Regions from separate parts of the Homo sapiens genome. Here all the other regions are linked to region 5. Evidence: promoter capture Hi-C in 16 types of primary human blood cells and fetal thymus (Javierre and others, 2016). All regions are on one chromosome and are shown on one strand. The core of a region is centred on a gene start or on the middle of the fragment in contact, and the rest is flanking DNA. Distances in the headings are between cores, read along the strand shown. Region 1 overlaps NEDD1 (NEDD1 gamma-tubulin ring complex targeting factor). Region 2 overlaps METAP2 (methionyl aminopeptidase 2). Region 3 holds the start of SNRPF (small nuclear ribonucleoprotein polypeptide F). Region 4 overlaps FGD6 (FYVE, RhoGEF and PH domain containing 6). Region 5 holds the start of ACTR6 (actin related protein 6). Region 6 holds the start of AMDHD1 (amidohydrolase domain containing 1). Region 7 overlaps LTA4H (leukotriene A4 hydrolase).

Region 1 (3,819 bases), core at 1,133-3,632, 3.3 Mb before region 5:
GTTTTTCTAGCAGATCTTAAATTATTATGAATTGTCATAATTTTACACACTGGGATAGGTAAAGTAGCCCAATTAGAAAGAAAACAGCAGGACAACTGAATAAAAGCTCAACTAATTTAAAGAGGACTCATGATTTTTATCAATCCTCTCCTAAAGGTATCCAGTGGGATTGACCTGAACTTCAGTTCTAACCCACAGATGTTGGAGACTGGGACAGAGGGAACATGTGCTAACAGTAGAAATGGAGTTTGAGGCACTCTGTTTAACCTGACTTAAGCAGAATCAAGGCATAGAATGTCTCTGGTCGATAAAGGCAGACTGAAGTCTTCAAGAGCAGGCAAAACATCTTAACCATCTTTGGATCTTTGTATCCTAAGATGTTCAAAAAACTTGTTAATGTCAACATCAAAACAATTTCAACTTCTACTCTACCACTATATATATGTACTACTGTTATGCATTATGCCTTAGGATCAGTGAATCAGTATTTGGGAGCTTTTTTTTTAAAGTATAAAAATAACAGATGGTATTTACAAGTGTGACATAATTCTAAGAGTTTTGTGAATATTCCAAATTAGTTGCTATGATTCTTAGCCCTCTTTCCCATAGTTAACAAATTGTATCATAATGCTGTTGGATAAAAGTAAGATTAGTTGAGTTCAAATTTTCAATCTATTTTAATTTAGTTATGAAAATATTTGGAAACATTGGTTTTTTAGCTTTTACTAGTAATGTTTACAGAAACATATTAATGTGCTAATAACCTTTTTGTAACTTCCAAGTCCTCTTACTCGTGTATTATTTGAGGCATTAGACCTTTTCTACTTGAGAAAATAAATTATGATCTTACTGATTTTAAAATTTTAGAGTAGAACTTTAAGTTCATATTTATTTTCTTTGATTTTGTATTTCACCTCTTTAAAGTAGAATGTACCTTTGCCTTGCACCTTGAGCAGTTCAGGATTCCTGTAATAACCACACAATTTCCATTAATTATTTAAGTTCATTAGTTGCATTAATAATACATTATCATAAAAAAGACCTATCAACAGGGTTAGCCAGCTCTAAATATAATTTTTATTTTGAGCCCTTAAGAGTAATTGTAGTTGTTGTGATGATTGGAGTCCCAATATATTGATCTTCAATGGACACCATCTTTTTCTATTTTATTTAAAGGCTGTTTTGATAGTTCTTAGCAAACTGTCCTGATTTGCAGTGACAACCAGATTCTAAAGCTTCTTAGTCTCCCTCAACTAAAGTCAATTCCTAGAATGGTATCTGCAGGAGAATTACAGCAACTATACTGAAACATTGATGTTGTGTGCATCTTGCTATTTTTATATGTTAGTTGATACTCTTGGTCAAAATTTTAGAGCTAGAAGGAACCCTGGGGTCCACAGAAGTGAACACAAATCTATTTGATTTCCTTGAAGCATTTTTGACCCCCTTAAAAGCCGTTGGATCCATGTGGAAGAAAGACAGTAAGAGAGTGGCTCTTTAGTACAAGATTAGCATGTTTATAGTATTTGAACGTGCAATGGGGGAAGGGCTAGAGGAAGGGGATCATATGCACCCTTTAAAGAATCTCTTTTGAGCAGAGGATATTTCTGAGAAGCATGGATTCTCAAAGTAAGAACAGTAGATCTAGTCTTCACCTTTCGTTTCTCAAATGCAGAAGCATAGGCTCAGAAAGGTGAGATGATTTGCCTAAACCTACATAGCTTGCCTTTTAACTTTTCTTGAAGTCATGAAATGTCTCCTTTGAATTTGAAGAATCCAAGGATGCACTGTGGAAGTTCCAACTAATGTGACTTCGTAGTGCATCTAAAGGTTACTTAGGAAAAAAATGCAACACTGTTCTGTATAGCATAGTTACTGATGGCACCACCAAATTGGTGACACTCAAAGATACTCACTGAGAAGAACTTGACAACATCTGTATTTTAGCCATTCTATAAAGATGGAGCATGGATATGGGCCTTGTGCTAGTGAAACTGACATTCTGGCGGGGGACAGGCAGTAAACTAGTAAACAAAAAATACCCAGATATTGGTAAGTTATCATGCAGATAACTAAAATAAGATATTGTGATAGCAAGTTACATTAGGTAGCCAATGGAGGTCCCTTGAAGTGTGGTGGCACTTAAGTTGATATCTGTTGACCAGAAAGTCTTCCAAACAGGGTTCAGTGAATTTAGCTTTCTAGGCAAGGAGAATAGCTGTGTAGAAGCCTTGAGGCAAATATAGGGTTGTATATTTAAGGAATGGAAGGTCAGTATGGCTGGAGAATTAGTGGATGAGGAAGAAAATGGTAACAGATGAGGTAGGGCCCAAATAATAGGACTTTGAAAGCCAGGTAAATGTTTGGAGTTTATTCTTGGTGTGATTGGAAGCCGTTGAAGATTTATTATTATTATTATTATTATTATTATTATTTTTAAATTATACTTTAAGTTTTAGGGTACATGTGCACATTGTGCAGGTTAGTTACATACGTATACATGTGCCATGCTGGTGCGCTGCACCCACTAACTCGTCATCTAGCATTAGGTATATCTCCCAATGCTATCCCTCCCCCCTCCCCCCTCCCCACCACAGTCCCCAGAGTGTGATATTCCCCTTCCTGTGTCCATGTGATCTCATTGTTCAATTCCCACCTATGAGTGAGAATATGCGGTGTTTGGTTTTTTGTTCTTGCGATAGTTTACTGAGAATGATGGTTTCCAATTTCATCCATGTCCCTACAAAGGACATGAACTCATCATTTTTTATGGCTGCATAGTATTCCATGGTGTATATGTGCCACATTTTCTTAATCCAGTCTATCATTGTTGGACATTTGGGTTGGTTCCAAGTCTTTGCTATTGTGAGTAATGCCGCAATAAACATACGTGTGCATGTGTCTTTATAGCAGCATGATTTATAGTCATTTGGGTATGGAAGGAGACATGATCTGATTTACATTTTTAAAGTCCACCCTACTTATGAAGGATGGAATATAGGAGAGCAGGAGTGGAAACAGGGAAACCAGTTAGGAAGCTGCTGTCGTAGTTTGGTAAGGTTTGGGTTAGTGTTAGTAGTAGCTATAGATAAAGGGGAGCCCATGTGGGATTCATTCTTGGGTTGGAGTTTAGAGAGCTTACTGATAGATTGGAGGGGAGGGAGAACAAGAAATCAAGGGTTATTCTGGGTTTTTATCTTGAGAAACTGGATGGTGTCTTTACAGAGATGGGGAACAGTTGAAGTCAGGCTTTGATGACCTGATGTCTGAGACTTGGTCTCCTTAACGGAGATTTGCTGGAAGACTTAGGGCAAGTATCTTGACTTCTTTAAAAAAAAACTTATCCCATCGGTAAAATGAGGGCTGTACACTGGAAATTCTTTTAAAGTCTCTTCTATTTTTAGCATTTTTGAGCTGGGGATTGATTTTAATGTAGGATATTCTGTGGAAATACAAGAGCAGGCTTTATCAAGAGGAGATAGGATGGGCAAACAAGCCCTGATGGGAGACCAGGACTGCCAGTGTTTTCTAAGCTTCCTGTGTCGTCACCGGTCCACAGAAGTGAATGCAAATCTATTTGATTTCCTTGAAGCATTTTTGACCCCCTTAAAAGCTGTTGGATCCATGTGGAAGAAAGACGATGAGAGAGTGGCTCTTTAGTACAAGATTAGCATGTTTATAGTATTTAATTTAACCAATATTTATCATATGCTTACTAAGTGTTGGATGAGACCTGAAAGTCAGCTCTGGGCTCTGTTAAATTAAGGTAACTTTTTTTTTTTTTTTTAAATAGCAAAAGCAGACATGTGTCAATTTAAA
Region 2 (3,739 bases), core at 941-3,440, 4.7 Mb before region 5:
GGGTGTGGAGGAGGTAGCGGCCTCCGGGAGCCACCTGAATGGCGACCTGGATCCAGACGACAGGGAAGAAGGAGCTGCCTCTACGGCTGAGGAAGCAGCCAAGAAAAAAAGACGAAAGAAGAAGAAGAGCAAAGGGCCTTCTGCAGGTAAAGAGAGTTTTATGTTTTCCCAGTCCCCTCCGGGAACGGCTGAACTGTTTGGCTCAGGCCCGTTGAGGGGGCCGGGACCGGGGCCCCAGAGCCCCGACTAGACTGATTCTTGGGCCTGACAGGGTGGCAAAGCCGGGCTATAGATTCCTAGTCTGAGAAGAGGCGTCATCTCCTCCTGTGGGACTAGAGGGCTGGTGGGGGAGAAAAGAGTGCCTGAGGTTGGCGTGTGGTACCTCTGGGGTCGCTGGGCCCGAGCCCCTGTATTACCAGAACTCAGCTCCCACGCACATCGTGGCACGGTCTTGAGATTGTGCGCAGAGCACAGCCCTACCATCTTTCGCGCGATTTGGCCGCCGCCTCAAAAATCCGATTCTGATCCGTATTGCCGCGTCTTTGCTGGTTTGCTGGAGCAAGCTAGGACTTATTTTCTTTGGGGGTGGGCAAATGTAATGGAGAGCACACCTCCTCCCACTATCCCGTTTCACGTTGGGGTTGTTGCAGCCTGCACTTTTGGGGTGTGTGTACATGTGTGTTTGCCCGCGCGCTCATGTCATTAATTGCAGAATTTGTGGTGGTGATAACGAATTTTCACCTGCCTAATCCCATAGCATCGCCAAGCTTTAGGGCCTTTAGACCTGAATTATGATACCAATTGCAGGCAGTGCAGATAGGATATTCTGTGGCTCAGAATGGAACTTCTGAGGTCTTAACCTCTAAATCCACTGGTAAGGCAAGGAGAACTGCTGAGAGTTTACAGTTGGATATTATGAACTAGGAACTTACATATTTTGAGAAGTCTGTGTTTTTGCTGCACAAGCTCCTTCACCTTAATAAAAATTATTTTTACTTGTTTCTAATTAAAATCGCCAGAGAAACAGAAAATGGAGAAGTCAGAAGCGATTAAGATGGAATTGAGAGAGGTCGAAGAGAGCTAATCTTCATCTTTCTGAAATTTTGATTAGATAGGAATGGAAGGAGAGTTGTAGCGTTGCTGGAACTCTTCCAGAGCAAAATTTGTTACTCTGGTGGCTGTTCCTGGATTTCGAGTGAAATTCAAACACTGCTGTTTGTCTTGTAAGGTGTTAAGCTGACTGATCCTAATGTATTTTTAACAGTTGTATTTCTTAATATGAATTCTCTCCAGTAGCCAGAATGTCACTTCATTTCGTGCTACCTGATACTATTAATGCATGTAACATATTGCTCTTATAGGTAGGTTATAATCACTTCCAGAGCAGGGGCCTGGTCTTGTGCTTAGATATTTGAGCGTTTTAGTTTTTTAGTAATGGACTGTCTTTGCCTATTTATTTTGACTTTACCCAGCCCATCGTGATATCCTTATTCATGAAACCAGGCTGCCCCGGGGTGTTGCACATGAATCTTTTTCCTAAGGCCTTCAGCATTTATTACCTATCTGGTGTTTAAGTATTTGTTAAGTCTAATTGCTGACCACTATTACAAGTTAAACTACTTGAGGATAGAGACCAGTTCACGCTGTTTATCTTTTAGCTGCTAGTGTGTGTAATGGATATTTTGTTGAGTAAATTAATGAATGGACAATACTGTGTAGGTATGGAAGATTTTTCTGTCATTAAACGAATTCTGTTATGTTCACAATAATGTTTCTGTTTTTGTTTCCTGAGGAAAGGATTTGTAAGTTTTCCAAGATCATTAGAGCATATTCTAGTGGGAAAGTGTCTGTATTAGATTTGATTTCTGCTATTTTATTTTGATCAGCAGGGGAACAGGAACCTGATAAAGAATCAGGAGCCTCAGTGGATGAAGTAGCAAGACAGTTGGAAAGATCAGCATTGGAAGATAAAGAAAGAGATGAAGATGATGAAGGTAAATGGTTAATTTGATCTTTGTGGTTAGAAAAGCTAGAAAATGTAGCCGGGTGTGGTGGCACACACCTGTAATCCCAGCACTTTGGGAGGTCGAGGCGGGTGGATTACATAAGGTCAGTAGTTCGAGACCAGCCTGGCCAACATGTTGAAACCCCATCTCTTCTAAAAAGACAAAAAAAAATTTAGCCGGGTGTGGTAGCACACACCTGTAATCCCAACAACTTGGGAAGCTGAGGCAGGAGAATTGCTTGAGCCCGAGAGATGGAGGTTGCAGTGAGCTGAGATTGCACCACTGCACTCCAGCCTGGCCAGCAGAGTAAGACTGTCTCAAAAAAAAGAAAGAAAGAAAGAAAGAAAGAAAAGCTAGAAAATGTGATATTCCTTAATCAAAATTTATTTACTCGTATAGTGTTTTCTCTGACATTTCACTTGTTACCTCAATTAATGTCACAGATTAAAAAGGAAAAGGTATTTATTAGCAAGTCTTGAAAAAGTTCAATGTGTTAATTAGCTGTTCAGATAGGACAGATCTCAGAGTTTAAAAATATACTTGGTAGAAGGCAAAGTAGTGAGTATTAATAAGATTGAGGGGTTGTTTATTTAACTAATACTTACTGAAGAACTACTATGTACTAGATACTTTCCTAGGTTATTTTCACATACATTCACATTTTAACCTCACAAAACCAAGCAAAGTAACCTACTTGTGCTTAGATATCCATTTTGTTTTTTGGTAATGGACTGTCTTTTCCTATTTATTTTGACTTTACCCAGCCCTTCATGGCTTTACCCAGCCATCTCATTTTACAGATAGGGAAGTGGTAGTTACATGATTTACCCAAAGTGACATAGCTAATATGTGTAGAATAGAGCCAGAATTTCAAACCTAGTGCCTGACTGCACGTTTGTTCCTTTTACTCTCTATTTTTTTTTTTCTTTTTGAGACCGAGTCTCGCTCTGTCGCACAGGCTGGAGTGCAGTGGCGTGATCTCGGATCACTGCGACCTCCCGAGCTCAAGCAATTCTCCTGCCTCAGCCTCCCGAGTAGCTGGGATTACAGGCGCCTGCCACCATGCCCAACTAATTTTTTTGTATCTTTAGTAGAAATGGGGTTTTGCCAGGTTGGTCTTGAACTCCTGACCTCAAGTAATCTGCCCACCTCAGCCTCCCAAGGTGCTGGGATTACAGGTTTGAGCTACTGTGTCCGGCCTGTTCCTTTTACTCTCTATACCAAAATTAACTCTTTTCATTCTGAAAGAATCGTATAGGAGTGCACTAAGTTTTATTATAAATTCCTTGACCCTAGCTCCTTCTGGGTGTTTGGGTACAATAAGATTTTTTTAAAGACAGCAACTGCTAATTGATGTTATCAGTAAAACAGTGAAGGAAGAGACAGGTAAGAAAACTTAACTTTTTTCCAGCCTCTTTTGGCGGAGGAAAAATGGGGCTTTCCCATTCTTTTTATTTGTAGCTGCCTACTACTGAGAACATCTGCTCCCCCTCAAGCACCACCAGCCTGGGGTTAGGTCTTTAACCATTAGTTGGGGCTGTAATTATTGTGTTAGGGTAATGTAGAGTAGTTGTTTTCCTTTAGAGTGGTATGTTCTCTGCCTTCAAGAAGCTTATAGTGAACATTTGGTGGAAAAAAGTGCCAAGATTCAAGGGAATTACTAGCTTTTCCTCTTCCTTAAACCTCTGTTCTACATTGGCTTATGCTTTAGATTATGAACTTATTTTGAGCTC
Region 3 (3,994 bases), core at 578-3,077, 4.3 Mb before region 5:
GAAAACAGCTAAAGAGTCAGGCTTCTAAAACACATATTGAGTCTTTGAAAGGTAGCTTCATGAAGTAGAAAAAGCAGAGTTTTGAAACCCAGGTATGTGGTCCTGAGCAAGCTATGAGGCAGAAGAATAGCGGCTGGAAGCAGGGAACCTAGGGCCCATCCATGCTGACTGGGTATCAGAGGCTACTCCCATTTCAACCCCTCCTTTTTCTGCGTGGCAGTTGAAAAATGAAAGTACCTCTTATTGGTCCCCTCCCGCAACCAATCAGACTGGTTGTGGGCCAATGGGCAACCTCTAGAGGGTATTTAAAGCCCAGAAAATTCTATAACCAATGCTCTTGAGCCGCTTGCACCAGGCGGTGCCCACCCTGTAGAGTGTACTTTCATTTAAAATAAATCTCTGCTTTCGCTGCCCTGCTTTGTTTGTGCGTTTTGTCCAATTCTTTGTTGAAAACGCCAAGAACTCGGACAGCTACCCTCAACTGGTAACAGTTACCTGCTGGGCCTACTTCCTCATCTCTTAAACGGGGCTGTCACCCCGAATCAGACAGTAAGGTAAGATTTCCACGATTGTTGAAAAAGCCTGACACATAGTAGGAACTCAAAGTCTATACAAAGACTTAAAGTTCATAAAACAATAGACAAACGGAGAAATCCACTGAAGTTTAGGGTGAATAAATCTAATAACTGTTTGGTAAAAACTACACTGACAATCATTGTCTGGTCAGTGTTCAACATTTACGTGAAACACTGAGCTTTTACAAGGCCAAGCCCCGTTTTACGTTAAATTCTCGCAACCACCCTGAGGATGGTTCCGTTTTTAAAGCCGCGTTCCTGCCGAGGAAACAATGGCCCTCGGGGTTAAGACACTGCCCAACACCGGCCGCGCCTGATAGACGCAGGTTCCGAATGCAGGCCCCCTCCAAAGTCTTGCCCACTGCTCCACAATGCCTCAACACCCAACATTTCATCCTCAACTCCAAATCCATCTCTTCAGGGCCGCAAAAAAGCGTTACTTCCCAAAGGGCGTGTTCTCCAAGAACTGCATTTAGCATTTCAGATCAGAGTGACCCGAACTCAATAGGATTACGACAAAAACTAGTGAGATTCAGATAACACCGTTACATCGAAAGTTTTAATCCGTGACAGAGGAAATATTGCTTACGCCCTTAGGTAATTTCAAATGCACGTATGAAGGCCGTGCGGGTTTCTGCAGGCGAAGCAAAAGAAAGGTGGGGCCGGCAGGGTCGTGGGGCGGGGGTGGGGCATGACACCGTATCCCAGACGCAACTCGACCTCGTTTGCAAGAAATTCTGTATCCAACTCTCTTCAGTGCGTTTCGCCGCCCCTAGTCTAGTCTGGCTAGCCCCCAATTCCTTTAAAAGGGGTTAAAACGGGTGTTGCAGAAGAGAGAACACTCAGGTAGAAAGGGCCTGCGGCAGAGGCGCCCCCAAATCATGGAACCTGTTGGAAGAGTGAGGAAGGAACTCTGGGACCCCGAACATTCTCACGGGTGTAAAAAGACAAAGTAAATCCCCATTAGCCAAGTTGGGGAGAAGTCACATCCGTTACACAGCCTCTCCCAGACCGCCCTCTAGGAAGGACACCACATTTAAAAACACCGGCCTGCCTCCAGTCCTTGGCTGCCTCACAGCGATGCTCAGAGCCGGTTTCCCAAGGTCCGCGCGCCGCCTGCAAGGCGCAAACCCAAGCCGCTGCTGGTTGCTAGGAGATACTGGGCCAGCCATCTCCTCCAATCAGCACGCACCTCTTTGCGTCCAATCACAGAGGCAGGAAGGGCCGTGGTGGGAGGTGAAAGGTCATAGTCCTGTTTGGCGGCCATTTCTCTTGAAACTGCGGCTCGGGACCTGCGGTACCTGCTGTAGTCACGAGGGACGGGCGGCGGCCTGGTCGGCAGAGAGTAGCCTGCAACATTCGGCCGTGGTTACGATGGTAAGGAGAAAGAGAACGGCGGGAGAAGCGGGGAGAAAGAGAAGGAGGGAGACCAGCCTCGCGGGGCCTGCTGGTTCCTTCGCGCGTTTCCCATTCATCCGCGTGAGGCGCCGCGCACCCTGTCGCCAGCTCCTTTCACTCTGCTTTTAGGTTTCTGAGGCGCGTGCTCCTCCCGATGCCTTTCTTTTCCTAGGAGTGCCCGTGCCTTCTTCTCTTTGTTTGAATCCGGGCCTGGGGTATTCTTAGTTGGGGCTATAGGGTCGGGGTAAAAGTCAAAGAGAATTTGCACTTCCCACTTAACCACACTCCAGAATTCACTTTCATTCCGTGAAAGTAATGATACGGCCATGCTCTAGATTAACTCACTTGGGTGGGGAAGACAGACATTAGTCAAAAAATAACAAGTATGTAATTGCAAATAATAAGTGCTAAGAACAATGCAGACAGGAGGCTGTGAGGGTGCGCGTTAGACATTAGAGGCTTAGTCAGAGATGGCCTCCCTAGGAGGTGGAATTTAACTCGAAGCCTAAGTGTCATGAAATACGACCCTTTAAAGAGCAGGAGGAGGAGTGTACCGAGCACAGGGAATAGGAGCATAAGACCTGCGGCCGGAAAGAAAGCTTGGTCATTTGGAGAAATTGACAGAAAGGTATAGCCACTTGCGCGAATAGTGGTTAAGAGATGGTATCGGAGGAGCAGGCGTTGGGCAGGACCTCTTAGGCTGTATTGGGAGGTTTTGATTGTACTCCAAATCAATTTAAAATGATTCGGTTGGAAGCCATTGGATCATTTTAAGCAGAAATATGACAATCTGATGTGCACTTTAAAAAATCATAGTTACTGTGGTGGATAACAAATTGGAGAATGAAAACTGGAGACCCATTAGGTTATTGGAGTAATCGCCATATCAAGATCACTCCGAATATGCTCATGTTAGAGGGGGTTAGTAGCCAAGTTTCTTAGTTCTCTTCTTTGTTTGACTGGTGAGTGAGCAGAAGAGGGCAAAAACCGAAATCACTGGAGATGTTAATGGTTTGCTGAATAAATAGACATTAAGTAATTGCTGTAAGTAAGAGGCGGTGCTACTGACAAAGTCAGATAGGACCTAGCCCTAGCTTCCCCAGTTAAATACTGTCAAGCGTGATCTGCCCTCTGCTTCCTTCTGTAGTTTTATATTTGGGGCTTTGACTGACAATGCTGAATTGTATGTCCCCAAAACCACCTTGTTGCATCACTCTTCCCTCCTTTTACATAAGTAGCTAGCCTTGCCTGGAACAGCATTTTTTCCCGCTCTGGAAATAAACTCTTATCCTTTAAAACTGAGGTATTACTTATTTCAGGCAACCTTTCCTTTTTCCCCTGGATTGCTTTGGTACCCTTGTGCCTAGTATATCTCCTTTTACTACAGTGCAGCATGCAATATAATTATTTGTATGTGAGGAGTTCCCCTCCCCATCTCCAACTTCTTGACAGGGACTCATTTATTTATTTATTTATAAGAGACAAGGTCTTGCTCTGTTGCCCAGGCTGGAGTGCAGTGGCCTAATCATAGCTCACTGCAGCCTCGAGCTCCTGGGTTCAAGCAGTCCTCCCACCTCATCCTCCCTAGTAGCTGGGACTACAGGTGTGCACCACCACACCTGACTATTTTTGGTAGAGATGGGGGTCTCACTATGTTGCCTGGGCTGGTCTTGAACTCGTGACCTCAAGTGATCCCCCGGCCTTGGCCTTCCAGATTACTGGAATTACAGATACGAGCCACCCTACCTGGCCCGCTTTTTTTTTTTTTTTTTTTTAGTGCCTTTATCTTTGTTTCTTTAGAGCTCAGAACAGTGAGTGATGTAGGTAGTCAGTGTATCTTAAGTGAATAGTCAGTGTTTTGTTTTGATGGGTTAAAGGTGAAATTGGCTAACTGGATATTTAAATTTCCCTGGTACTCTCAACAAATAAAAGTGAAAATTATGTACTAAAATAATAAGGAGTCAAAAGTTTTCTTCATTTGCATACCACAAAATATTGGTGATTCGGTAGAAGAGAGTTGG
Region 4 (4,063 bases), core at 1,171-3,670, 5.0 Mb before region 5:
CGCAAATTCAATTCTGAATTGTCCATTTGAATTACAGCCACCATTCATTTCTGGGCTGTCTGTGGGCCTGTGCTTCTGTGCAGAAATAAAAGGTGGCATTTGGTGTATTAAGGCATCTTTGAGCTCCTCTTCTAAAACGCTTGCCTTTAAAACAACCCCACCCTGGTTCTTGGCTTTTTCACCATACAAATCACATTTACTCCTAGTTTTTATAGTCAAAGTCTCATCAATTTTACTGTTTTCTAAATTTTCATTCATTTCCAGGGGCTCTAAAACAAGCTGCTTTACACACAAATTCTCTCTATGGCCCAGCTTATGGATACACTCAGAACTGCAGGAACACATTGGTGAAATATAATCATTGCTCTGATTGCCTTCATATTTACAATTAAAGTTGTCAGTGCTTTCAGCTAATTCCTGTTTATGCCCTTCCAGGTTCAACATGATTTTCCTTGATGGCGACTGCCCAATCTCTCGAACAGGTGAGGTCTTCAGGACTTTTGGTTTTGGGGCTATTGCTGGTTTCATTTTCTTTGTCGACTGTGGAACACTAGAAATCACAATGTCGGGTTTAGGTGCAATAGGAGGTGGGGCTGGCTTATTATTTGCCACAACAAACTTGGGCTTGGGGGCCACTGGTGGCTTCTTTATCTCTAGAAAGGAAAAAATAATAATTTGATGTCAAAACAACCAAAGCACAAAATGATACATGATTAAATCTGATAGCATTTTTTATTTTTAACAATATGACCTTGCCTTTTACTGAGTATGTTACATTATATAGTATCAATATTACTCCTGAAAATTCCTTAAATTGTCTTTCAATTCCATACATAGCTTTGGGTCTATTGTACATTTTTAAATAAATCCAATACAGTTTGTTTCTCCAGCTTTGGAACTGTTACCATATCTTTTTTTCTTTTTCTTCTTTTTTTTTTTTTGTGAGACGGAGTCTTGCCCTGTCGCCCAGGCTGGAGTGCAGTGACATGATCTCGGCTCACTGCAACCTCTGCTTCCAGGGTTCAAGTATTTCTCCTGCCTCAGCCTCCTGAGTAGCTGGGATTACAAGTGCGCACCACCACATCCGGCTAAGTTTTGTATTTTTAGTAGAGATGGGGTTTCACCATGTTGATCAGGCTGGTCTCAAACTCCTGACCTCGTGATCCACCCACCTCAGCCTCCCAAAGTGCTGGGATTATAGGCGTGAGCCACCGCGCCCAGCCCATCATATCTTTCATTGACAAAAAATGAGATAATTGACTTCAGTTTGGGACCCACATAGTTGTTCTTCAATTCATTTGCCAAGTGCTGAAAGTTGAATTTGCCTAAGTTAAATGTAGGATGCAGCTCTTTAAACTTCAGATCAATGATCAATGATCTGTCTACCTCGATAGATAGAACCCCAAAACAATATTAAAAAAGGAAGACAGAAATCAGAAATTTTCTAAATTTAAAAACTGAAAATTAATTCTTTGGTATTATTTAAGGCTCATAATAAACCTGGTATTTCTTTCTCCAAGAGTTATTGGTTGGGAATTTTCATTATATTCCTTCACGGAGCTCTATTTTTTAAAAAGTCACATGTCTAGGTCCTACCCTAGAGTGAACTAGTTAGTTTCTGGGGATAGATCCTGGACATCTGTACATCTTTTAAGTTCCACAGGTTATGTTGTTTATCCCTCATTAACATCCACTGTTCTACTACATTTAAAAGATAACTACAATTTCTAGTGTAGCAATTCTTCCTAAACATTATATATAAGGTATTTAACTAACACCTATTATACAATGCTGCATCGGTACAGATCTGCTCCTATACTATAGGAACCTAATAAAAGCTTTACACAACAGACCTATAAAGCGAAAAGATAAATAAAGCCTGTATATCTGTAAGTTCCTTTATGTTCTTCCACCTACACTGTCATATTATTGACCACATTTCCCCAAGGAGACATGTCATAAAAAATATTTTATCTTTTACATTTATATTTGTTCGTTTGACAGGATCTAACACTTAATAAAAACTTAATTTACTGAAAAAACTTTTCAAAATATCTGCTGCAAAGGACTGCTGGACGTTGTTTAATTACTTGAATAGACAGGGGCTCTGATATTTCATTTGGTGATGACTTACTTTTGAACAAAGGAAATTAGTCACGACACTTGGGAAGCTATTACACGGAACTGAGTTTTTTTAAAAAAAAGAGGAGTAGGGTGCTCTACTTCCTTTTACCAACCAAGGAAGAATTCCCTAAATCTCTACTTCTATGTGTGCAATAAAGATTATATGATGTATATGATGATACATGTCCTCTCACTCAATTTCTAGGTATAATGTCATCATCAATAAAAAATTATTTTCAAAATAATGCAAATTCCTATACTACATAATTTCAGTTAGCTGTTCAATCATCATAGTTAATTTTGTCTGAGTTTTTTTTAGGCAGAAAATAACTGAAAAACCCTTCAAATCCTAGTGAGAAACCTAGTTGTAAATGTCTATTAAATCAAACCCTCCATTTAGTAAGTCAAGTCTTAAGAGAAAGTATGAATGCCTTAGGCCTCTTCCCAACGGCCCATCTTACTCAGTACGACTGTCAAGTTGATTTTATTTCTGTAACCATTATCAAAACATCCTACCTCTGGGATTTTTCAAAGAATTTTTTAAAAATTAGTTTTGGCAGCCTGGCATAGTGGCTCATGCCTGTAATCCCAGCACCTTGGGAGGGCAAGGTGGGAGGATTGCTTGAGCTCAGGAATTGGAGACCAGCCTGGGCAACACAGTAAGACTCCGTCTCCATGAAAACAAAAAAAATAGTTTCGTAAAATGAAGAGTTCTTGAGATTGGATGTACCATGTGAATGTACTTAACACTTCTGAACTATACACTTAAAAATGAGTAAGACGGTAAATTTATCTTATGTGCTATTTTACCACAGTTGGAAGAAAACTTCATCTCTCATCAAATTAATCTTTTACTTTCCGTATCTTAGAACCTTGTCAGAAGCTTTAGGGTCATTTAAATATCATTTTTAAAAAATCCCTGGTACCAATTTTACTCTTTTTAAAAAATGCGTTTTGTACACAAATCTGCTTCCAAGAGATATAAATTCCTGTTCTAGTGTCACAGAAATTCAATTAACTACGTATGTGCTGGAGTTGATTCCCAATAAATATAGCAAAGTCCTATTACGTACATAAAACCCTCAACGCATACTCACTGAATTCAATTAATAACTGTGAACTTGGGCTTGCCATTGTTAGTTAACTGTGTATTGAAGGAAGTCACAGACATAACTCAGGGAGCTGGCTAACCTAATTGTGGGCCTTGTACAGACCTGGCTGCCTCACTTTCCTTCCTTATAAATGGGGGAGTTGAACAGGCCTCTAAAGCCCATAGGAATCTGAGATGATAACTTCTGAGACACTCATTTCAGAAGAACCTCATGTACTGTGGCCTCTGTCTCCTGCGTTGATGTTTTTTCAGTTCACCTTTGTCTGTGTTCAGCATAAGACACAAGCTCCAGAAGGGCAGGCACTTTGTCTCATTCACTGATGTATCCCAGTGCTAACAACAGGGCCTGGGAATAATCACAGCTGCCACATACACATACTCTTTAATATGTCTCCATAACAGAAAATTTCTTCTTTAAAAATAATCACATTCAAAAATGTACATCCATTTTAATGTAGAATAATATTTTGAAAAGTTAGCAGGAATCAATTTCAATACGATTATTGAAAAATTCCTTAATTATTAATAGGAACAAGTGTTCAACTAAGTCACTGGTAGAGCAATATCCAAAATCCTTCATTATTTTTTTTTCATGGCTCTATTTTGGAAGAAACACAACTCAAAAAATAATAAGCCATTATATTATGGTCTACTCCAATGTGAAATAAGTGCATGACATTTGGCAATAAATCTAGCACCTTTGGATCTTAATACTGCATCAACAGTCAGACCCAAAGCTTCTTAGAGCAAAGCAGCAAATCTTTTATTTACACAGCTGTTTGGCTCCAGGGAAATATAAGGTAAGAAAGTAAAGCACTAGTACCATTT
Region 5 (3,702 bases), core at 151-2,650:
GTGCGAGGAGGCCTTGGAGAAAGGAGGGTGGATGGGGCAGGCCCCCAGGGGAGGCAAGGAGCGCCGACAGAAGGGCCCAGGCGCTTGCAGGGCGCGAGTTCCCACCTCAAGCACCGTGGCGGCTCCCGCGCTGCGCACCTGGAAGTGCGCAGGCTGCTCCGCCGCCTCGTCGGCGCGCTGGTAGCTGAAGCAGGCTTCTGCTATGTCCAGGTGGCCGAGGGGCAGCGGGTCGTGGGGGTTCTTGAAGTAGCAGAGGCAGCAGCGGCGCCCGTCCAACACGAACCGACGGCTGCGGTAGCCACGCAGTCGCGCTGGTTCCCGCGCGGTACCCGCCCCGGGCTCTGCAGCCTCCCCATCGCCGTCGCTGCCCTCCTCTGCCCGGGTTCCGGCCCCGGTATGGCTGCCTGCGCGCCAACCGTTTGTTCCCCGGCCCCCGCGCCTTCGCGCTGCGGCTGCTGCGCTCCCTGCCCCCGCGGTGCCCCCTTCCCGCCGCCCCGCTCCTCTCTCAGGCGCTCAAAGTGGCCTGGAATTTGTAGAACGCCCCCCTCCAAGCCCGTTGGCAGTTGTCCTAGCCCGCTGGCCCTTGCCCCCGCCCGCTGGCCGTTGCCCCCGCGACGCCCCGGAAGCCAGGTCCTGCCTCCCGCACCTGCCAAGTCCCCGCCCTGCCGGAGTCTCGCTCTGTCGCCCAGGCTGGAGTGTAGTGGAGCCATCTCGGCTCACTGCAACCTCCGCCTCCCCGGTTCAAGCAATTCTCCCGCCTCAGCCTCCCGAGTACTTGGGATTACAGGCGCCCGCCACCTCGCCCGGCTACTTTTTGTATTTTTAATAGAGACGGGGTTTCGCCGTGTTGGTCAGGCTGGTCTCAAGCTCCTGACCTCAAGTGATCTGCTTGCCTTGGTCTCCTAAAGTGCTGGGATTACAGGCGTGAGCCACCGCGTCCGGCCCAAAAGCCTTTTTTGGATGAGAAAGACTCACTCAGCTTCGTCCTGAAGAGCAAGTGGGCTGGGGAAGAGGAGAGTATGAATGTGAGTCCAAGAGCAAGTTTTGCACTTTTTTCTTCAAAGAATGTCACCGTCTGAAGAATGCGATTGGAAGACACACACACACACACACACACACACACACACGCAGCCGGTTCTCTACAGGATTAGAAAAAACTTGCGCGAATTAATCTGCGTAGTTAAAAACAAATACGAAATGAGCGAGAAAGCACATAGTAGTCAAATCTCGCCACCACATAAACAGGTTAAGTTTGGAAGCACAGCCCCTAACATTCGGTGCTGCTTAGCATCTCCGACTTCCGGCGTCCTCCGTTGCTAAGGTGACCAGAGGCGCGTCCTAACGCTCCGCCCAACAAACCATAGAGTACCGGAAAAAGCTCGAGCAGAGGGGTCGGAAAGGGAAAACAACTACGGCTGCGGTGTGGTTGGTGGTGAGATGACGACCTTAGTGCTGGATAATGGAGCTTACAACGCCAAAATCGGTTACAGCCATGAAAATGTGTCGTAAGTACTTTCTTTCTCCGAGGGACAAGATATATACGCCTAGTGGTTTCATGTGCTACGTTTCATCTCCGGACATCAATGAACTGCAGACACCCCCGCGCGGCCCTGACTTAGCCAGAGGGATTCCCTGGTTGGAGCTGGGTGGGTGATTGTGATGCTTTGAATTGAAATTGATTTTGGTTTTAGTTTTGGGCTGCGAGGCCCCGGAAGTGGGATATATGTTTTATTTCGTAACAGGAAATAGCCAAAGAAAATAGGCTTATAGAGATGCGTTCCTGACAGAAGGGTCCGTAAAGTTCATCAGCCTTTGGAAACTATGGGCACGGTGTTTGGGTGTATGCGGATTTTCCTGGGTACAAGATTATAGGTTTCATTAGATTCTCAAAGGGTTCTATGACCCTCCAAAAGTCTAAAAATCACGGTCTTAGGATCTAGAGGCTTTGAAGACTTTGGCCTACTGGCCGACCTAGTTGGTAAGGTCAATTAAACAGAAGTACTGTTAATACAATGGCATTCATAACATGTATAGTCATAAAATATATGTTTGAATAAATAAGCAAACCTAAAGACACGCCTTTCCTTTATCAAATTAACAGAGCATTAAAAAAAATTCTTTCCTTCCTCCCTCCTTTCCTTCTTTTTCATTTCTTTTGAAACAGAAATGAAAGAGGGAAATCAAACTGAGTAGGAATGTAAATTGTTACAATCTTTCTGGAAAACGTTTTGGCAATGTGTATCATTATCATTGTCACCGAGGCTGGAGTGCCGTGGTGCGATCTCAGCTCACTGCAGCCTGAATTCAAGTGATTCTCCCGCCTCAGCCTCCAGAGTAGCTGGGATTATAGGCGTGCACCACCACTCCCAGCGAATTTTTTGTATTTTTGTTAGAGACGGGGTTTCATCATGTTGGCCAGGCCGGTCTCGAGCCCCTGGCCTCAAGCAGTCTACCCGCGTTGGCCTCCCAAAGTGCTGGTATTAGGGGCGTGAGCCCTACACCCAGCTGACAAAGCAATTTTTTTTTTTTTTTTTGGAGAGGGAGTCTGGCTCTCTTGTCCAGGCTGGAGTGCAGTGGCACGATCTCGGCTCGCTGCAACCTCTGCCTCCCGGGTTCAAGCCATTCTCATGCCTCAGCCTCCCAAGTAGCTGGGACTACAGTTGCGCACCACCACGCCTGGCTAAGTTTTGTATTTTTAGTAGAGACGGGGGTTTCACCATTTTGGCCATGCTGGTCTGGAATTCCTGACCTCGTGATCTGCCTGCTTCAGCCTCCTAAAGTGCTGGGATTACAGGTGTGAGCCACCGCACCGGGCCATGACACAGCAATTCTGTTATTACCTAGAGAATTAATTAGAAGTGCTTTGTATTATTCATAGTCATCGTATACAGGCAGCCAAAAAATGGGAAGGAAGCTAAATAATCAGGAATAGCATATTGGCTAAATACACCAAAATACAACCTGAGACTGATAACAAATTCAAGCTTCTTAAAATTATGTCTTCAAAGAACATTTAAACATGTAGAGAAAATGCTGACAGTATTATAAGTGAAATAAGCAGGTGTAAAACATTTTTTTACAGTATTATCCCAGTGTCATCTCGTATACACATACAGACACATTTGTATGCATACATGTGTGTATAATTAATAATGGCTCTAGTTTGTCTTCCAAACCAGATTGTAAGCTCATGGCAAGCAGCAAGAGGCCCAGGTGGGTGGATCACGAGGTTAGGAGATCCAGAGCATCATGGCTAACACGGCGAAACCCTGTCTCTACTAAAAATACAAAAATTAGCCGGGCGTAGTGGCAGGCGCCTGTAGTCCCAGCTACCTGGGAGGCTGAGGCGGGAGAATGGCGTGGGCCTGGGAGGCGGAGCTTGCAGTGAGCCGAGATCACGCCACTGCACTCCAGCCTGGGGCGACAAAGCGAGACTCGGTCTCAAAAAAAAAAAAAAAAAGTTGCTACTTCTGTACCCTGTAGCAGCAGCAGTCTCCAACCTTTTTGGCACCAAGGACTGGTTTCGTGGAAGACAATTTTAACGTGTGGTTGGGGGTATGAGTGTGGGCGATGGTTTTGAAATGAAACTATTCTCAGGTATTAGATTCTCACAAAAAAAGTGCACAAACTATATCCCTTGCATGCACAGTTCAAAATAGGGTTCCTGCTCCTATGAGAATCTAATGCTATGGCTGATCTGAC
Region 6 (3,937 bases), core at 783-3,282, 4.3 Mb before region 5:
TTGGCCAGGAAGACAAATAGCAGGATTAAAACACACGAATAATAGTAATAATACCTATTACTTGTTTAGAGCTGGGCACTGGGCTAAGTGATTTATGTTTTATTTTATTTAAAACTCAGACAAGCCCATAAAGTAGAAACAGCTCTCCCTATGATGAGGATGAGAAAACGAGGCTTCGAGAAATTACTGTAAAGAAATTCCCCAAGGTCAAACAGCTTATAGGAAACAGAACTCAGACTAAGACAAGTTTATTGAACCCTATTTTTCTATAATTTTAACCCATCCTTTATACATACAATTGCATAGTTCTGCAAATATGCCTAAAATTGCAAAATGTAACTGATTAAAGTCTTCAGCAGAAATTTTATAATAGAAAATTTTAATATTTCTCTGTGAATTAGTGACTTTATGTGTTTCTATTCCCCACTATTTCTACTTCTCTTTTTAAAGACATAGAAATATATGTATGTATAAACTTTTTAAAAGCTATGCACACACACACACAAACAACCTGTTTGTGATTGTGTATATGAGCTGTGAATAATCTTCTGATGCCCCCTCCCCCCCACCCTTAGGGTCTCTTTCACTCACATTGTCTATATATTTTCCAATTTTTATCTTTCTCTTTCCTAACTGATCTCTCTTTTATAGGCCATAATATGAAGCTAAATTATATTCTTATTTATCGTGGTCATCTAAAGGAGTGTTTGCTTTCTGTTCCAGGTTTTTTTAATGAGACTAAATTAACTTTTATATTTTGTGGGTTTGCAGGCTTAGTCTGCTTTTATAGTATATTATTTGTGTCCACATCTATCACTTTTATTGTAAAGTCTTTACTGGGCAGGGAAAGCGCCTTTCCTATCTTTGTATGTTCCACAAGACTTAACACAGAGCTTGTGATAAACATGAATAAACGAAATCAAGTAATTAAGGACTCAAAAGCCTGGGCCTGGCAGTGTTTCCATAGCAATTGGTAGCAGGAAGCGACGAGGCTGAGAATCACAGACCATCTTCCATAAACTTGATTCTGTCTCCAATTTTGGTCGCAAGTTGCTTGTAGGCCCACCAGACACAGCTGAGGGGTGGGAGGGGGCATGCGGAGGGGCGGACACTGAGCTGAAACCTATTTTACCTCAGCGAGTTTGGATCCAGGAGCCTTTCCAACCTATCGTTCGGGAAGGCGTTGTGGGAAAAGTGGGCGGAGGTGCCAATCGATCCTCCAGTCTCGGCTCTATCCTCCCCCAGCCCGGTTCCCGGTCATCTCAGGGACCGTCTGGTAGCTGATCCCGGAACGCAGCTGGCCAACGGATAAGTGCGGGGCACCCGCCACCCGCGCGGACCCAGGAGCACCTCCCCTACCGCATCCCCCTCCTCCCCACCCCCAGGTTCCCTCGGCTCGCGGCCCTCCGCGTCCCGGGCTCCCGCCCCAGAACCTGTGGGCAGATGTTTCCTCCACGCAGTACCCTCCCGGGGCTCTGCCTCCAGGCTCGCGTCCCAGCACCCTAGGCAGAGGTTTCCCCCACTCTGTCCTCTCCCGGGGCTCTACCTCCAAGCTCCCGTCCCTGCCCCTGGGCACAGCTTTCCCCTACTCTGCCCTCTCCAGGAGCGCTATCTCCAGGCTCCCACCCCAACCCCCCGGGCAGAGGTTTCCCCCATGGCCCCCCTTCCGGGGCTCTACCCCAGGTTCCGGTCCCTCACTCCCGAACACTCCGGGTGCCCTCACCCAGCCAACCCTTGACGCGCTTCCACATACCACGTGATCCACACAGCTCACTTTGATCTCTCGGGGTGACCAAGCTTAAGTTTCCTTATCTGAAAAGTAGGGACACTAGTCTCCATCTCGTTTACTCGGGATGGGACAAGACGACCAAAAAAGAGAGGATTCCTCATCAGGTTTATTACTCGTTGCCATTCTTGCAATGATTACCGCCCCCGTTGCTGTGGTTGGGGGAGGCGAGCAAAGGGCAGCGGCTGCGAGCGCCCGCCCCCGCCCCACCCTCCCAGCCCCGGACAGCGCAGGCTGCGGCTTTTCGTCCTCCACTGAGTCCTGCCGGTGGCCCGAGCCCGGTGGCCTCCCGGCGACCCTCGGCGCGAGGCGACATGGCAAGCGGCCACAGCCTCCTGCTGGAGAACGCGCAGCAAGTGGTGCTGGTGTGCGCCCGCGGCGAGCGCTTCCTGGCGCGGGATGCGCTGCGCAGCCTGGCGGTGCTGGAAGGCGCCAGCCTGGTGGTGGGCAAGTAAGTGGCCGGGCGCGCAGGGTGGGGACCGCCACGGGCGGAGCTGGCCGCTCTTCCTCTCACTGTGCACTCTGGAGGGAAACAACGCCGTGAAAGCGTCCCTGCACAGAGATACACGGGCAAGCCAGCCTTTGGGGTACCTGTTGCTAACACGCTCTGCTGCTTGGGGTTGTCATTCCGTCCAAAGAGCTCAGAGAGGAACACCCCATTGGAACGCATCAGGGTCCTGCCTCTGCTGGTAAAATATCACTGTCCAACCATCAGAAGGGGTTGAGGTCCTCCCCAGTGCTTCTTAAAGGGAGGCCAGAAGACCACCTTTGTCAGGGTGGCCTGTGGTTATTTTATTCTTACGGCAGATTTCTGATTCCACCTGCGTCCCCCACTCCCTATCCCTAGAATTTTAGAATCAGCATCACTGGGGCTGGAGTTCTGAGACCTGAATTTTTCAAAAGTACCTTTCACATCCTCGTGATCTCGTACACTAAAGCTTTAGAACCACGGAGAACATTTAGACGATAATGGCCCTGAGTGATAATAAATCAAGATTTGACCATCAGAAAACAAGATATTTCTCTTACTCATCTGAGCTTCCTGCCAGATATGAATAAAAGAACAAAGTTTGAGGGCGACCTGGGGTAGCAAGGGAAGTTGGATGAGAATTTGAATCCAAAGCGTGCCATGGGACCACAATTGCACACGATCAATGAGTCTCACAAACTGACCACGGCTTATCTGAGGCAGTTTAGGGTTGTGCAAGAGCCCAGCTTTTAAGGGACTGTGGGTTGGTTTAATTTTATTTATTTATTTATTTATTTATTTATTTATTTATTTATTTATTTTTGAGACGCATGAGCCACTGCGCCCAGCCTATTTTTTGTTTTTTTGAGACAGGGTCTAGCTCTGTTGCCCAGGTTGGAGTGCAGTGGCATGATCTTGGCTCCACCTCCCAGGCTCAACTGCGATCTCCACCTCCCAGGCTCAAGCCATCCTCCCACCTCAGCTTGACAAGCAGCTGGGACTACAGGTGCACGCCACCACGCCAGGCTAATTTTTGTATTTTTTGTAGAGACAATGTCTCACTGTGTTGCCCAGGCTGGTCTTGAACTCCTGGGCTCAAGCCATCCACCTGGTTTGGCCTCCCAGTGCTGAGATTACAGGCGTGAACCACCACGCCCAGCTTGACTGGTTTATTTTTAATTAAGGGATGAAAACATTCCCAATTTACTATGAAAATATTATTTAAAATTTTGCTTAGAAAGTTGAAAAATATGTACCTGGGTTGGGACTGGAGTATCTTATAAAAATTATATCAATGCGACCAGGCACAGTGACTCACGCCTGCAATCCCAGCACTTTGGGAAGCTGAGGCAGGTGGATCACCTGAGGTTGGGAGCTCGAGATCAGCCTGGCCAACATGATGAAACCCCATCTCTACTAAAAATACAAACATTAGCCGGGCATGGCGGCGCACGTCTGTAATCCCAGCTACTCGGGAGGCTGAGGCAGGAGAATCGCTTGAACCCGGGAGGCGGAGGTTGCAGTGAGCTGAGATCTCGCCACTGCACTCCAGCCTGGGTGACAGAGCGAGACTCTGTCTCAAAAATAAATAAATAAATACATAAATAAAATGATACTAATGCACCAACATGAAGTCCTGGGTTCCAAGACATGTTCTATGTTCACATCAAAACCACAAAAAG
Region 7 (3,914 bases), core at 566-3,065, 4.2 Mb before region 5:
ATTTCTCCCCAGATTTCTTGATTCTGTTAAAAGAACTCTTCCAGTTACCTAAGGTTTGATCCCATTTCCCAACCCCACACAGCCACTTAAAAGTTGTTCTTTCACAATGTCTTCATACTTTTCCTTTCTTTCCACTACTAACCCAGGTCAGGCCCTGGACTGGCAGAACTGCTTTCTACCAGATCTCCCTACCTCTGGCATTATTTTTTTCCTTTTCTGAAATCTGACCTGGCTACATGTGAGGCCAAGAACCAGCCATTTCCCAGCTGCCCCTGGGTACTTTCTTTTGGGGGTACCTCATTTGTTATCCTTACTCTAAATTAGTAGAAGATACGGTTTATATCTTATTTAAAATAATAGGGTTACTCCTTCATATTCTAGTACCTCTCTAGTCTCTTCATAGTCTAGTACCTAGTTCTGAATAGCTATTCAGAATAGCTAACTTGTTTTAAAAACTTGATTTGAGTATCTTGTGTTTATAACACATGCTTATATAGATGAATTAACTGGGTCATTTCCCAGTGGAACATATTCTGTTTTCTATATTGGCTAAACTTTCCAAATCTGTTCAGAATCAGAAGTGTCATAGTGACAACTATTTTTTGTGAAACGTTTTGATATCCCCTGTGTCTGTTATAGCTCTTGGCCCTACCCTTTCCTATAATACTTACTGTACTGCATTATAATGATTTCTTTTTCCATTAGACTAAGGGTTCTAAAACAGAGAATGTTACTTAGGTCTGTATTCCCAGGGTTTAGCACTCTGCCTCAAAAACACTAGGTGTCAATTAATGCATGAAGCAGGTCCTAGACCAAGAGAAAACAAAAAATGCAATGTTTAAGCTGTATTATCTCAAGTCCTAAGTCTCAACTATCATTTGCAAACTACTTTTTAAAATTCCCCTTCAAATTTCAGCGATGTTATTTTTAAAAAATAGTCAAAAACTGTAATAAGAAAGAAAAATAAAGAAAACTGGATTGTTGACAAGTTGGATTTAGTACTTTTTAAGAAACGTGTTAAGCATCAACAGCTCTACTAATTATAGGATATAATTTATATGTTTCACAGTATCCTCTTTGAACAATACCCTCCATCCCCCTAAAAAGCAGTTGTACTTCTCAGTAGCTGGTCAGTTGACATGGAATAGGTATCTGATTCCTTTTTTGCACAGGCTGGTAGGAAGCTCCATGTCAACCCTGTGGCCCACTTCTTTTAAAGTATAGAGGGCTTTATGCCATGGGTTTTGTTTCTCCTATCCCTATTCTCTCTTCCTGCAAATTATTTAATTATTTTTAATCTTATACTATATATGTTGCTTCAAGCAGTCTCAGTCCTTTCTAGAACAAAGCAGAGTTTTTTTAAAAAAAGCTTTATGCCTCATTATGATGTCTAAATTTACATTTTCTACTTGCTATGTGCAGGGATATGATGAAAAAAAATAGGTTTATGTGTGAAACACAAAGCTAAAACTAAAAAACCACCTTGATTTGATTCCCAGTTGAGACATTTACTTAGTGAAAACAAGATGGTTTGCAGTCAGAATTACCTATTGTTAACTGCTGGCTTCTGCCTTGGCCATGGCACTAAAACCTCTTGAGCCACTAACCAAAAGAACACCTAAACATTTCTGAAGGTTTCAGTGAAAAGAAACAAATGTATGAAAGTTATCATAAATTTGGAGGATCAAACTTCAGTGTAAATAACCCAAAACTTGAAAAGAATTTTAGAAAGCTTAGAATTTGTCCGATTAAGTCTCCTTCAGCATTCCTCAACATCACAAACTCTAAGAACGGAGAGGAAAAGAAGACATGACGTCTCTCCTGATTCCGCACTGGCACTGGGTCTTCCCATCTCACCTCTGAAATACAGCTGGCACTATTATCAATGTAGCCCATGTTAAGCTTAGGCACTGTTTTCTAATTGAAATCATCCATTAATCAAACTTTTGAATGTCCTCTACATGCCAGACATAGACTATACTAGGAAGCTGAGATACAAAGAGTTATGAAACACAGTCTCTACATTCAAGAGTCCACAATCTAGTGGAGGAAAGAAACAAGTTAACTTTAAATAAATACTAATTAACTAATTAATAAGGATAAGCTCCTGGTCTAAGGCTTTTGTCATAAATAAGCAAACAATTATAAACATGTTATTTTGTACCATAAATTGCCTTCCTTGTATAACATGTAACATTATTATAATTCCAGGCTCTAATTTGCTAAACAGACATGCCAACCAGAAATCACTATTTTAAAATCTTACTTTTCTCTAGATTTGGGGAATGTAAAAACAATGAGCAGATTTTTAGATTGGGACATTCTTTTCAAAATTTAAACATCCTGACTCTTGCTTACTTATAGAACAGAGATAAAGTTTTTATTCTACAAAAGTGATGAGAACACATGGATACACAGTGGGGAACACACACTGGGGCTTACTGGAGGGTGGAGGGTAGGAGAAGGGAAAGGATCAGGAAAAGTAACTAATGGGTACTAGGCTTAATACCTGGGTGACAAAATAATCTGTACAACAAACCCTCATGACACAAGTTTACCTATGTAACAAACCTGCACATTTGAAGTACACCTGAACTTCAAATAATAAATTTTTTAAGTTTTTATTTTACAAAACAAAGGTAAGTGTGAGGTCACATTAAGCAGCAAAAAGCTATAAAAATTTTCATTCTTTTACTTTTATCAGCATAGTTTATAATTTAATTTTTTTAAATAAAGGTGAAGAACAAGAACTTTCCAGTTAACTAAGAGCTTTGAGTGGGTTTGGGGCTTAGTCAAGGTTTTATTATATCTTAAACCAATTGGAATATTTCTTCTGAAATATATGTTGCAGCTAAAGATTCAAGGAAGAATTTGCTGTTCATATATTAGAAAAACCTCTTTAAATTTCTTCCACTAGCGACCTCGGTTTTGGTTTGCAATTATTCACATCTGAACACAAGTGTCCTGAATTGCTTAATTTTTAAATCTCTAGTACTTTTGAATGTAGGACGTATAAACTCATGTTCAAATATGGCAGTCTCACAGTGTGGTTTTTCTTTTTTTATTATTATACTTTAAGTTCTGGGGTACATGTGCAGAACGTGCAGGTTTGTTACATAAGTATACACATGCCATGGTGGTTTGCTGCACCCATCAACCCGTCAGCTACATTAGGTATTTCTCCTAATGCTATCCCTCCCCTAGGCCCCTACCCCCAACAGGCCCTGGTGTGTGATGTTCCCCTCCCTGTGTCCATGTGTTCTCATTGTTCAACTCTCACTTATGAGTGAGAACATGCGGTGTTTAGTTTTGAAACTGCATTGAAATAGGACTTCAGCCCTGCCCAGGCAAAGTTGCTACTGCAATTAAAGATAGCATGGTACTTCAAGAAGACCAAAGTGCGATCTGCAAGGAAATAGATGCCTTCCTGCTTATAATATCTTAATTTTCTTTCTTATGGTACTTTTGTTGATTACCTATCAGTACATAGAGGAATCGACCTATTTTTCAAATCAATCAGTTTAGCAAAATGTTGAGGGATGAAGAGTAAGAAAGTAAGTACTTATTAGTTCATATTAATGAAATCAAAATTCAGATCCTTCCTACACAAGTAGGAAAAAGAGGCCTGAAAGCCACCAATTCTTATCTGCCCGATCTGATCTGATTGCTTATTGATGTGCTTTAGTAGATTTCACCATGCTACACTGTGTAAAATACACATGTAGCATCCTGCCCTGGTGAAGAAGCCGAATTTGGCTGTCTTTTCATGACCCTCTTATTTTTAAAATGATCTTCTATGAAATTCTTCAGGTGAAAGGTACCTTCAGATGAAAGGTATAAACCAAATACTATTGGGCAATTTGAGCAAGAACATTAAATATAGGTTATGATACAGATAAAATCATTGAATAATA

What was found. Contacts are between HindIII fragments. The CHiCAGO score rates a contact against its expected background, and 5 or more counts as called.
Region 1: a fragment that was not itself captured here is called in contact with the fragment with the promoter of ACTR6 in region 5 in 1 of 17 cell types (total CD4 T cells); the score reaches 6.7 in total CD4 T cells.
Region 2: a contact is called between a fragment that was not itself captured here and the fragment with the promoter of ACTR6 in region 5, in 3 of 17 cell types (total CD4 T cells, total CD8 T cells and naive CD8 T cells). The highest score is 9.8, in total CD4 T cells.
Region 3: a contact is called between the fragment with the promoter of SNRPF here and the fragment with the promoter of ACTR6 in region 5, in 1 of 17 cell types (naive CD8 T cells). The highest score is 6.0, in naive CD8 T cells.
Region 4: a fragment that was not itself captured here is called in contact with the fragment with the promoter of ACTR6 in region 5 in 1 of 17 cell types (total CD4 T cells); the score reaches 5.8 in total CD4 T cells.
Region 6: a contact is called between the fragment with the promoter of AMDHD1 here and the fragment with the promoter of ACTR6 in region 5, in 1 of 17 cell types (total CD4 T cells). The highest score is 6.2, in total CD4 T cells.
Region 7: a contact is called between a fragment that was not itself captured here and the fragment with the promoter of ACTR6 in region 5, in 2 of 17 cell types (non-activated CD4 T cells and total CD4 T cells). The highest score is 7.9, in non-activated CD4 T cells.

The regions. Positions count from the first base shown.
Region 1 is chr12:96,913,828-96,917,646 of GRCh38, forward strand. It overlaps NEDD1 (NEDD1 gamma-tubulin ring complex targeting factor), which reads left to right. Exons shown (of 16, transcript NM_152905.4): 5 at 3,794-3,819. Among named protein-coding and RNA genes, the nearest start is that of NEDD1, 8.5 kb to the left of the region's middle. The HindIII fragment of the contact is 2,298 bases long and covers 1,234-3,531 here.
Region 2 is chr12:95,474,185-95,477,923 of GRCh38, forward strand. It overlaps METAP2 (methionyl aminopeptidase 2), which reads left to right. Exons shown (of 11, transcript NM_006838.4): 1 at 1-146; 2 at 1,887-1,994. Among named protein-coding and RNA genes, the nearest start is that of METAP2, 1.9 kb to the left of the region's middle. RefSeq lists an enhancer at 1-184. The HindIII fragment of the contact is 2,850 bases long and covers 766-3,615 here.
Region 3 is chr12:95,857,125-95,861,118 of GRCh38, forward strand. It overlaps SNRPF (small nuclear ribonucleoprotein polypeptide F), which reads left to right and starts at 1,828. Exons shown (of 4, transcript NM_003095.5): 1 at 1,828-1,952. The coding sequence starts at 1,950. It overlaps SNRPF-DT (SNRPF divergent transcript), which reads right to left and starts at 1,715. Exons shown (of 3, transcript NR_135014.1): 1 at 1,630-1,715. RefSeq lists enhancers at 1,537-2,152, 1,551-1,610, 1,661-1,720, 1,841-2,070, 2,101-2,150. The HindIII fragment of the contact is 4,587 bases long and covers 1-2,570 here.
Region 4 is chr12:95,210,615-95,214,677 of GRCh38, forward strand. FGD6 (FYVE, RhoGEF and PH domain containing 6) reads right to left here. Exons shown (of 21, transcript NM_018351.4): 2 at 1-653. Among named protein-coding and RNA genes, the nearest start is that of FGD6, 4.8 kb to the right of the region's middle. RefSeq lists an enhancer at 3,356-3,435. The HindIII fragment of the contact is 1,169 bases long and covers 1,837-3,005 here.
Region 5 is chr12:100,199,415-100,203,116 of GRCh38, forward strand. It overlaps ACTR6 (actin related protein 6), which reads left to right and starts at 1,401. Exons shown (of 11, transcript NM_022496.5): 1 at 1,401-1,505. The coding sequence starts at 1,438. RefSeq lists a silencer at 345-704 and enhancers at 1,197-1,491, 1,465-1,664, 2,509-3,196, 3,197-3,702, 3,514-3,573. The HindIII fragment of the contact is 11,223 bases long and covers 1-2,982 here.
Region 6 is chr12:95,941,299-95,945,235 of GRCh38, forward strand. AMDHD1 (amidohydrolase domain containing 1) reads left to right here and starts at 2,033. Exons shown (of 9, transcript NM_152435.3): 1 at 2,033-2,237. The coding sequence starts at 2,101. It overlaps CCDC38 (coiled-coil domain containing 38), which reads right to left and starts at 1,316. Exons shown (of 16, transcript NM_182496.3): 1 at 1,133-1,316. The HindIII fragment of the contact is 927 bases long and covers 1,796-2,722 here.
Region 7 is chr12:96,030,506-96,034,419 of GRCh38, forward strand. All of the region lies in intron 1 of LTA4H (leukotriene A4 hydrolase), which reads right to left. Among named protein-coding and RNA genes, the nearest start is that of LTA4H, 3.1 kb to the right of the region's middle. RefSeq lists an enhancer at 2,377-2,546. The HindIII fragment of the contact is 170 bases long and covers 1,731-1,900 here.